Regions from separate parts of the Homo sapiens genome. Here region 1 is linked to region 2. The links are contacts of gene promoters, found by promoter capture Hi-C in human tissues and cell types (Jung and others, 2019). All regions are on one chromosome and are shown on one strand. The core of a region is centred on a gene start or on the middle of the fragment in contact, and the rest is flanking DNA. Distances in the headings are between cores, read along the strand shown. Region 1 has its middle 8.5 kb from the start of COL13A1. Region 2 holds the start of TYSND1 (trypsin like peroxisomal matrix peptidase 1).

The links. The method cuts DNA at HindIII sites, captures the fragments that hold promoters and counts their contacts. A contact is called where the count stands out against the background at its distance.
Region 1: a contact is called between a fragment that was not itself captured here and the fragment with the promoter of TYSND1 in region 2, in 1 of the 25 tissues and cell types used here (IMR-90 fibroblasts).

The regions. Positions count from the first base shown.
Region 1 is chr10:69,790,434-69,796,280 of GRCh38, forward strand. No RefSeq gene overlaps it. Among named protein-coding and RNA genes, the nearest start is that of COL13A1, 8.5 kb to the right of the region's middle. The HindIII fragment of the contact is 5,520 bases long and covers 406-5,847 here.
Region 2 is chr10:70,143,755-70,149,038 of GRCh38, forward strand. TYSND1 (trypsin like peroxisomal matrix peptidase 1) reads right to left here and starts at 2,946. Exons shown (of 4, transcript NM_173555.4): 1 at 1,667-2,946; 2 at 88-218. The coding sequence starts at 2,832. It overlaps SAR1A (secretion associated Ras related GTPase 1A), which reads right to left. Exons shown (of 7, transcript NM_020150.5): 7 at 3,535-5,284. RefSeq lists silencers at 1,848-2,077, 2,408-2,717 and an enhancer at 2,208-2,257. The HindIII fragment of the contact is 18,753 bases long and covers 741-5,284 here.

The sequences.
Region 1 (5,847 bases), core at 1,916-4,415, 350 kb before region 2:
CCTAACCTCTCTGTACCTGGTTTTTCTCATCTGTTAAATGGGGAAATAGAAATACCTACTCTCGTGCAGATTTCATCTTGCGAGATGATGTGTATAGTAAAGCACTTAGAACAGTCCATAGTAACGCTTAACAAAAATTAGTTATTATTATTCTCCAGAAGTGACTCATTTTCACCAAGTAGACCACGGTGAACAAATATTCACAGATATACACAGCTGAAGTGTAAATGGTCAGACATAAGACACAGTGCTTTTTTATGATTGTTCTCCCACTGACCAAAAATGCAACCCCTACACCCAAGTTCATCTTGCCTGTTGTTTGAACCTGGCTACTCCTCTTGACTAGAGGCACTTGGAATTCTCAAAAGGACCTGATGGGGTTAGGGACCCCAGGTCTCTCTGTTCCGGAAGGTTTCAATATAATTCTGAAGCTCTATGGGATACCACCTGTGGTCCTTCTACCCCTCCAGGTCCAGGTTTAGCTAGGAGTTACCCAGCTTAAAAAAGAACCAGCACCTGCCATCTTGGAAGAATTTGTTCTCTCTTTCTAGGTGGTCCTTTCTTGGGTCGTTTGGGCCTGTGTTTCTAGGCTGGCAAAGCCTTGGCATCTTCATGATCCTCACTACCAATCACACCACCAATGTGACATCATCACCAATGTCATCCATCAATGCCACCATTTAATCTAAACCATGATTACCATCACTTCTGTTAGCAGCAACACCATCCCATCCCACAACCACCTCCATCACTGATGTTGCCTTCACCTTTTTCATCTTCCTCTCAGCCATTGTCACTGTTAGGATCTCTCTTACATGATCATCTTTGCACTTTCAAGATCACCTATGCTCAGGGCCAGACAGAACCCTTTGGTAGTAAGTAACGGAAATCCAAGTCCACTGACTTAAGAAAAGAGATGGAAAGGATTGTAGTTCACAGATCTAAACTAGAAAGGGTGAGACTGTCCGAGGGATGACTGTGCCCAAGGGACTCAAACACCAACAGAAAGCTTTCATTTTCTCCATCTCTCATCTCCACTTCTCTCCAGAGTCAATTTTATTCTCTTCTGCAGACAAACTCTTGTCTATGTGAGCTTCATGGATTTATACACAGCTGCATAGTGACTCAAAAGCAAAAGAATTTCTATCTCCCAAGCTCTGATTGAAAAATTCTAATGGAAGTCCCTGGTTGGTTTCACTTGGCCATCCTTTGGGCCAATCATAGTGGCTAGAAATGTGTGGTTCTGTGATTGACCCTGCTTGGTCGTGTGCCTAGTAAAAACATGGCAACTGGGGGAAACTTGGTGAACAGGTGAGTACTCTACTTTACGTTGACATACATCCCATTCACCACCATCACCAGCACCACCACCAGCACCGCTGCCATCACCACCACCGCCCTCACTGCCACTGCCATCACCACCTCACCATTATCACCACTACCACCATCACCACCACCACCATTATCTCCACTGTTGCCATCACTGCTACCACCACCATCATCACTACCACCATTACCATCATCATCACTATCATCACCACCACCACCACCGTCACCACCATCTCCACCACCATCACCACCACTACCACCATCACCACCACCATTATCTCCACTACTGCCATCACCGCCTCCACCACCATTACCACTACTATCATTACTATCATCATCACTATCACCACCACCACCACCACCCACCATCACTGCCACTGCCGTCACCATCACCACCACCCACCGTCACCACCACCACTGCATCACCACCACTACCACCACCACCAGCATCATTATCACCACTACTGCCATCACCACCACCATCACCACCACTATAACCACCACCACCACCACCGCCACCATCATCACTCTTTTTCTGAGAACTATAATGTGCCCAGCCTTGAACTTCACATTTGAACTACACAAATATGAGTTTGAAGAAATCTCCAGCCCTGCAGGAATTTACTGTCTCTGGAAACAAGAAAGTTGACTTGTTCAAGGAGCTAGACTTCTAGTCCTTGGCCACAGGATGGGAGCAAAGAGGGAAGCTGTAGGGGCAGCATCTGGCACCTCTTCAGCACTGGCCCTAAGCCCTGAACAGACCCAGAGTCCTTGGAAGCTAACAAGCCTGTGCTGTGATGGCCAGGCCACTTGGCAAATAGCTGCCTGTGCCCAGCCAGGAACTGGAGCCATTCCTTCATACTCACAAAGTTCCCACCCCAGCCCACTGCCCTGTGCTCTACCAGAGCCCTCAGCACATCTGCCCTGTTCCCTCGGGGGCTGGGACTTGCTTTTGGCTCTATTCCCCCTACTCCTGCTCCACCTCTGAGCAAACATCTGTTTCTAGACGTTGTCCTAGAGCCTAATAAAGTCTCGGAAAGGCCCAAGTTAATATATCCATAGACCTGCCTGTCAGCAGCTAGCTAATGTCAGGAACAGAGCACTCAAGGAAAGCAAGACCCCTCGTTTCCTGATGGGGGTGGAGTGTACGGGAAAGATAAACAGGGCATCCCTCCCCATTTCAGAAATGACCTTAACAAAGCAACAGCTTTTAGGAAAAAGAGAAAAGAAAAAAATGGCCTTTGTAATGAGGTTTATGGGAACAAATGTTTCAGGTGGTTCTGCCTTCACAGCTACTGCTGGGGAAAGAGCTGGAGGGAGAAGAGCTCAGTCATGAGTGCAAAACCTCCTGTGGATTAACTGGCCCTTGGCCACAGTCCAGACAATGGGCTGAGCCTGAACCTGGGGGCTGTGAGTTGCCTGGCAGGGAAAAGACCTGCCCTGAGTGGCAGGTCTGGTTCTGCCACTAGTATGCTGGGTAACCTTGGACCACATTCTGACCTCTCTGTATTCAGTTTCTGCAGATGCCACATACTAGTGGAGCCTTGGAGGATTGACAAAGGTCCTTCTGGGCAAGGGGTGGGGGTGCCCCACACTTCAAACCAGGAGAGTAGCCCCTAAGATAAGATCTGACTACTGAGTTCTGTGGTCAAGACCAAGAGTTCCACAGTGGTGGGGGCGGGCAGAGGGTTGGGGGACAGGAAAGAGAGCAGAGACACAATGCTATAACTTGCATACCTCAAATTCTGGTAAGCGGGGATCTGGATCAGTAAACTAATTGGGCTCTTCATTATCCATCGGTCATCAACCAGAAACATCTGTCTCTTAAACTGCAGTTGCCCACCTTTCCGACAGCTCTTCCTGCCTGTCAGGGAGAGCTCAAGTCCTGCGTCCTTCTCCGAGCACATAATTGGGGCGCCCTTCCACTAACTCTGAGGCCTAGATTCTGAGCCCTTGTTTCCATGGACTGACAGCTCTGAGGGTCTGTGTTTCACTCTCACTCCTTAACCGATTGTTCTTTCTCCAGCAAGCTGCAAATCAGGCCCTAATGGCTGCATTTGCTTGTGGTTTCTGATGCCTGGTTGCAGCACGACCATCACCAACATCTCTTCTGTATTTTGCACTTGATTAGGGCTTTGCACACATGATCTCATTTGAGTCTTCCAGCATTCCCCTAAGTAAGAATTCATCTTCCCCTGCCTGGGCAGGAGAAGGTTCCAGAGAGGTTAAGGCATTTACCAAAAGGCACACAATTTGTAGATAAAGAAGCAAAGCTTCTGGTGCTTTGTTTCAACTCAAACTGAATCAGCAAAATGGTTTCATCTCAAGTACTAATCTCACTAGATTGATAATAGCTTTCTGCTTTGAGGGGCATAAGGGATTGTGTGTGTGTGTGCGTGTGTGTGTGTGTGTGTGTGTGTGTGTGTGTGTATGGTGGGAGTGGTGTTCTGTAGTTGATTAGTGATGTCTGCCAGTGGCATGGGAAGTATTGGCATGTGTGTGAAACACGACCAGACCATACCACTTAAGAAGAATGGAAGGTCAGGTGTTTGGGGTTATTGGGGTTCAGGAGGTCACATGATGCACCCAGGCAAGGATGGACCACATAACCTTGGAACTTCTGCTCTATTCTCCCAGTCCCTTTCTTTGTCTGGATCCTGCCATGCTCCAAGGACCAGCTTAGAATTCACCTCTTCCAGGAAGCCTTCCTGAACCTTCACTTCAACTCTAAGTCTCCACCCACTTCCCTTCTCTGAGTCCCAAGGCACTAATCATCTGCCTACTTGTTTGGCCTTCAGCTTATGCTGCCTGGCACTGCTGTTCTTTCTTCTGCACACATAAGTCCCCACAGATGCCCCTCAGGACTGTGAGTTCTGTGAGTACCTAACTCTGGGTTTTGCTCCCACTAGGAGGCTCAATAATAAATGCAGACTAATTTATATCAATGACCTAGACCGTGCAAATGGGCAAGCAGTAGCCCTCCTCTCCACTGCCAGAACACAGGGCTTGAGAGGAGGCAAGAACCCCTGTTTGGTTTTTATTGTACATGCCCAGTCTCTACAGTTATTACAATGTCAAGGTTGGCTTCCATGAACCTAGTCCTGACTCAGCACTTTGCATCCACTATTGCATCCAATCCTCACAATAACTCTAGGAGATAGGAATTCTTCTCCTTATAGTTCATGCTTTAAAAAACAGATGCAGAGAGGCCACATAATTTGCAAAGTCACATAGGGAGCACACAATGGAGCCAGAACCTGAAACTACCTGAAATAGCCTCCAAGTGAATAGAAAATTAGTTTCAGAGCCATCTACACCTGGCCTTGGAATAAGGCAAGGTAGGTGCCAGGTAGGAGATTTCTGCTGAATTACTCTCAAACCATCCAGGTCCAGAGGGATATGGGCTGCTTAGTACCTCCAGCTGCTCCTGGAAGAAGTCAACAAAAGACAGTGGGTCTGGGCAGCATCTGGGCACTGGGGTTGACAGCTGGGCATGGGCTTTGCTAACCACAACATTCCCCAAATCCTACTTTTCAGGGTCAAATAATCCTCTAGACAGATCCAGTAGCCCACCCTACCAGGCATTCATTCTTGCTCAGGTAAACACTTACATTTGTGGACCTTACATCCTGGTATTCATGACATTGATTAGTTTCTTCCCACATGACTCTGGGCTTGGCCATGTGACTTGTTTTGGCCAATGAGACATTAGCAATTGTCGCACAAGCAGAGGCATGATAAGCAGTCTTGGAACACTCCTCATGAAAGCCAGCCCCCATGCTGGCTCAGGATAAACTATAGCCATATTGCCTAGAGCAGAAGAACCTTTTGGCTGAGCCCTGTCAATACACATAATCATAAAAAATAATAAATCACTGTTTAAACCACTAAGTTTTGGAGCAGTTTGTTATGCAGCTAGAGATGACTGACATACTGTCCCTAGTTATGGCTACCATCATTCTTAGACATGGTTGGGGTCCTGACCATGCTGGCTCAGGATAGACTATAGCCATACTACCTGAAGCAGAAGAACCTTTTAGCTGAGCCCTGTCAATACACAGAATCATAAGAAATAATAAATCATTGTTTAAATCACTAAGTTTTGGAGCAGTTTGTTATGCAGCTATAGATGACTGATATATTGTCCCTAGTTATGGCTACCATCATTCCTAGACATGGTTGGAGTCCTGACCATTCAGAAGCACCTACATGCTCTTGTATATGCATCTCAACCAAAGTAGATTACATACATAGAGCTTAGCACACTTCCCTTTCTGCCAACGCACACAAACACTCATACACACACACAGGGAATGGCTTGGAGCCAACTCATGTGTACCTTGAGGCAGCCCTGGTAACCCACAGCATTTGCACTCCCCTACATATGCCTGCTTGACTGTGTGTGCAGAAATGTGCACGATCTTCTGTGTCGCAAAACACAAGAGCAGAAAAGGCATGTACACACCCCAAAATCTTACATTGATGGCAGATGGGAGTCACACACACACGCGTGAACAT
Region 2 (5,284 bases), core at 1,696-4,195:
ATGAGAATGCCCAACACTGATTCTCCTTCCTGAGGCCCACCCTAGCTCAGAGGGGCCCTCCTTCAGGCTGCGCCCTTCGTCCTTTACCTTCATGGAAGTGCTCAGCGGGCACAGGGATGGGGACATCATCCAGGTCCTCCTCCAGGCTCACCACTGCTATGTCATAGGGACATGTCTCCTGAGTGGCAAATACCACACGGCCCCAGATGGCCACACTCCTGGGAGCAAGGGAAACAAATGACAGGCTAGCTTTCTGACTCCTCAGTACTTGGGAGAAATCAAGGAGCTGAGAGTGACAGTAAAAGTCAGAAGATCTGGGTATCAGCCCTGAATCGACCAGCAGGCAACTCTGGGCAAGTCATGTAACCATTCTGTGGTATCTCCAAAGGTGGTTGACAAACTGTGCTACTTCTCTAAAGCTTCCTGTACCTGAATAATCAACCTGACACTTAGTGAGCACTGTGGGCCAGGTTTGGTGTTAGTGTTTTGTGGACATCACTTTATTTAGTCTTCACGACCCTATAAACTAGGCACTGGCATTATCTCCATTTTAGGTGGTATAACTGAGGCCCAGAGACGCTCAGTAACATTCCCAACACCAAACAAAGTGGGAGGAGCCAAGGCAAACACAACACTTTCCTTCACTGCCTCGTTGATACCCACAACAATCCCGTCAGTTGGTGGGTCAGATATGACATGGTTTCACTCCTCTGGGTCCCTATTTACGTACACGCTAACACTTCTGTAGCACACGACGTGACAGGCTCCGTTCCACGACATTCAGCGTCAACTCCCGGGGAGGCAGCTTAGACAGGTTAAGTGACTTGCCCGGGATCAGACAGGGGCGTCCTACTACACACTCTGCAGGGGTAGCTTCCAACAGACCTGGCAGTCTCCTTAGGAGCAAGGGGCATGTGGGGGGAGTGGAAGGAATCTGGTGGGGGCCACACACCATAGGCAAACCTTCATCATCAGTCTTCCCTATAAAGTCATGGCTGTCCTATAGGCCACAGTGGGGACACCTATGGCAAAACTGGGCAGTGTTACCCACACCTGGCTAAGCTTGGGGATTCAGGAAGAGATTTGGAAAAGCCTGGGCTGCAAGGCTGGGCTGAACCATGTACAGCTGCGTGGGCCACCCCCCTACCTTCTGATTACGTAGAAACTCACGTTTCACTCAGACGGGAAGCTCTGGCTAAGCACTAAAAGATGGATAAAATTAACATACCCATCTCCTTACCCCAGGAGAGCACCATCCTGGGCCTCTGGGACCTTATCACTTTCAGAGGAGAAGCAGCAGGGTTAGGGAATCTCTGTTCAAAGGGCCAGAGAACCGAGGGGTATGGCGTGCAGGGCTATCAGACAGTGAAGCTGCCCAGAAGAAACTCAGCCTTTGAGGGGAGCTCAAAGATGCCCTGTTCCGGATTCAGGGTGTCCCACAGTACCCAAATCCAGAGCTGCTTCGAGCTTGACACCTTGCCCCAGATTCTCCCCACAGGGGTTCTGGGTATAAAGGATGAGGGGAGGGTTCCAGGTCTCTACCCACTACACGCCCAAAGCATCCGCGTGACACAAGAAAGGCCTGCACAATACTCAAGAGTATTAGGGCTGGACCCAGATCTGAGACCTGGAAAGGGATGAAGTGGCGTCAGCCCTGCGGGCTTACTTGGGGGTGGTGGAGCGCACCAGGACCCTGGCTGCTTCCCGAGGGGACACGTGCCGACAGGTCACTACAAGGCGGGGTGCCACAGCCACTCCGGAGCCCCATACGGTGCCGCACTCCACCAACACTGCCGCGGCTGCCCACAGGGGCCCGGAGTCTCGGAGGGGCAGACCCCACGGGACGCCCACCTCTGGCGGCAGAAGGGCGGCCAGGGCAGCGGTGCTGTGCGGCAGGCGGTGAAGCGCGTCGCGGGCGGCGCGGAAAAGGGGGGCGGCGGCGCAGAGCAGCGTGAAGCCCACCCATTCGCCGGCCTTCCAACAGAGCGGCGCCACCACCAGCGCCACCAGCGCCCCCGCGGGCCGCGCGGTGAACACGCCGCCGCCCTCGGTGCCGGGCAGGCAGCGTGCGTCGGTAAGCAGCAGTGGGCCGGCCACGTTGCTGAGCACCCCGCAGCTCAGCGTGTTGAGAAAGATGTCGGGGCAGAAGGCGCCGAAAGGGGAGCCGCAGACCAGCAATGGCGCACCCTTGGGCACGGCCCCGAGAGGCGACACCGCCATGGCTGGCCCGCGCTCCTCCTCCACCTCCTCCTGGCCTAGCCGCACGCCCAGCAGCGCAAACCAGCCCAGCGCTCTCAGTTGATCCGCCTCCTCGTCCTCCGACACTTCGTCATCCCGCGCCGCGCTCGAGAAGCGCCACTGTTCCGCTGCCTCGTCCCCGAAGAGGCGCGCGAAGTGGGCCCAGAAGGCCGGGCAGCTCAGCAGCAGCAGCAGCTCAGCAGGAAGCCGGGGCTGCAGGGGACGCCCGCGGGACGGGGCAGGTGGGCCGGGCTCGAGGCTCGCGCACTGGGGCGTGCACAGCCCTGGGCGGCCCCGCTCCGCGCCGCCCCCGGGACCCGCGGCCGTTGGGGCCCACTGCACGTGCAGGCGCAGGTCGTCCCTGCAACTGTCGCCAGGCAGGAAGACGGCGCCGGCCGCGGTCAGGACTTCGCTGCCAGCTCGCAGGAAGGGGACGAAGATGCCCCCGTGGCAAAGCACCAGGCCCGGGCTACGGCTCAGGATTACCCCGCTGCAGCTCCACGGGCCCGCCTCGGGCTGTCCGGCCCGGGAGGCGCTCACCATGCAGCCCGCCTGCTCGGCCGCCCTCATGGCAGACCCCCACTGCCTTCTCATGGCCTCTAGGCCGGACACTCGGGAGCTTCTCCGAGAAACAGCAAGCTAGCGAGCGAGGACCCCTACCCGGTCCGGCTGAAGCTGCCTAGCGCCACCCACAGCTGGAAGCGAGAGGCGCAAGCTCTGACTCACGTCTTCCTCATCGAGCCCGATTGGCTAAGCCCCAATTGACCCGACCCGATTGGCTGGGCTTGTACCGAGCTCTGATTGGCTTCCTATTCTGATTTTTTTTTTCCTTTCCCCGCCCTCGTTAGTTTGTCCAACCGGTGGGACATAATCTGCCCCATTCCCCCGGATGAGCCCCGGGGAGAGTAAGAGGAGTGCGGCGTCACGAGGAATCAGAGGAGAGGAGGGTGGGTCCCTTCAAGCCTAGTCTCGTTTGCTGGAATGTGGGAAAGGGAATAGAAATGAGCGCTGACGTGCCTAGATTTGCCCAGGCCACGACAGTACCTGTGAGCATCTGCCCAGGTCTAGGCGACCTTCAGCCTCTGACCCTTGGGATAATATGGACCAAGGAAATCCTTGGCCAATTCAGTGTTTTGAAAATTTAAAAGTAAACCCTATAGCAATCCACTAGGGGGCATGGAACTCTCAAGATTACTCCTAGGATTTTTTTTTGCTGCCAAAGCCCCAACACAAATCTCCGAGAAACTGGATTTGCTGTAAATTAAATTGCCCTTTAAATCGACTATGAACAGTAGCTGAAATCAAAAATTTTAATCATACAGGCCTATATTTTACAGTGTGCACATTTCACATAACATAACCACCAGCCAGGATTTATCTAGGCCAGGGTCCAAATACTTTCTGTAGAAGGCCAGAATGGAAACAGTTCCAGTTTGGGGGGACCATACAACTTGTCTCAAATAGTCAACTCTGCAGCTGTTGCATACAAAAGCTAAAGGAATGGCGGTGGCTGTGTCCCAATAAAAAGATACAGACATTGAAATTTTAATTTCATACAATTTTTTGTGTCCAAAAATAGCATTCTTTAAATATTTTTTCCAACCATTTAAATATGTAAAAACCTTTCTTTGCTCACAGGCCATACAAACACAGGCAGCAGGCCCGATTTGACCCACAAGGCATAGTTTACCATCTCTAGTGTACACTAACATAAACTGCTCTACTTTTCCAAAGAAGTACGCTTTAGGACAGAGGAGGATGAACGAGTATGTCGGGGAGTGGGGGGGCGCGGAGCTTCATGATACCCTCAATCAGTCACCACAAGCTAGACAGTTTACAAAGGTCTGCTTTATCACTGAATTGATAAAATACACATTATTTTTTATTTATTTATTTATTTTTTTGAGACGGAGTCTCGCTCTGTCGCCCAGGCTGGAGTGCAATGGTGCGATCTCCGCTCACTGCAAACTCCGCCTCCTGGGTTCACGCTATTCTCCTGCCTCAGCCTCCCCAGTCGCTGGGACTACAGGCGCCTGCCACCACGCCCAGCTAATTTTTTGTATTTTTAGTAGAGACGGGGTTTCACCGTGTTAGCCAGGATGGTCTCGATCTCCTGACCTTGTGATCCGCCCGCCTCGGCCTCCCAAAGTGCTGGGATTACAGGCGTGAGCCACCGTACCCGGCCATCATTAATTTTTATTAAGGTTACTGTATTGCTTACCATATACAATTGCTACTTAAATTCTCTAATCTTTCTGCCTGAATTCTTTAAATAAAGTTAACACTGCTTGGTATAACCCCAGCACAACACAGGATAATGCTCCCAGTACTCCCAGTGACACAAACCTGCTAGAGAAAGGAAAACGATTATCCATGATAGTATGAGGCAGGAATAAAATTAGGCCATCTTGCCATAGCAGGCGGTCTTCTTTTGGTTCTATGACACAGAAGGTGGCTTGATCACAGCACAATTTCTTTATCCCAACTTCCTAGCAATCAAAGAGTTTTTCTCTTGGTGGAGCACAGGGGCTCACACTTGGAATCCCAGCACGTTGGGAGGCTGAGGTAGGAGAATTTCCTGAGCCCAGGAGTTTGAGACCAGCCTGGGCAACATGATGAGACCTTAACTCTACAAAAATTTTGAAAACTAGCTGAGCACGGTGGTGCAACCCTGTGGTCCCAAGCTACTTGGGAGGCTGAGATGGGAGGATCACTTAAGCCCAGGAGGTCAAGGCTGCAGTGACCTATGTTCATACCACTGCACTCCAGCCTGGGCGACAGAGTGAGACCAACTCAAAAAACAAACAAACAAACAAACAAACAAACTTTCTCTCTCGAGTCCAGTGATTCTCCCTCAACGCTCAAGACTCCAGCATGAACTGTTAGGCATTGGGTTTTTCTGTGTTTACAGCAGACCATGGTAAAAAGAAGTCCCAAGTCACAGCCAGAACGCCAAAGTAAGATCTGTTGAGTGCTAGGCTCATGGACTGAGCCTAATCTTATTTTCCACTCTGCCTCAAACAAAACAACTCATTTGCCCATACAA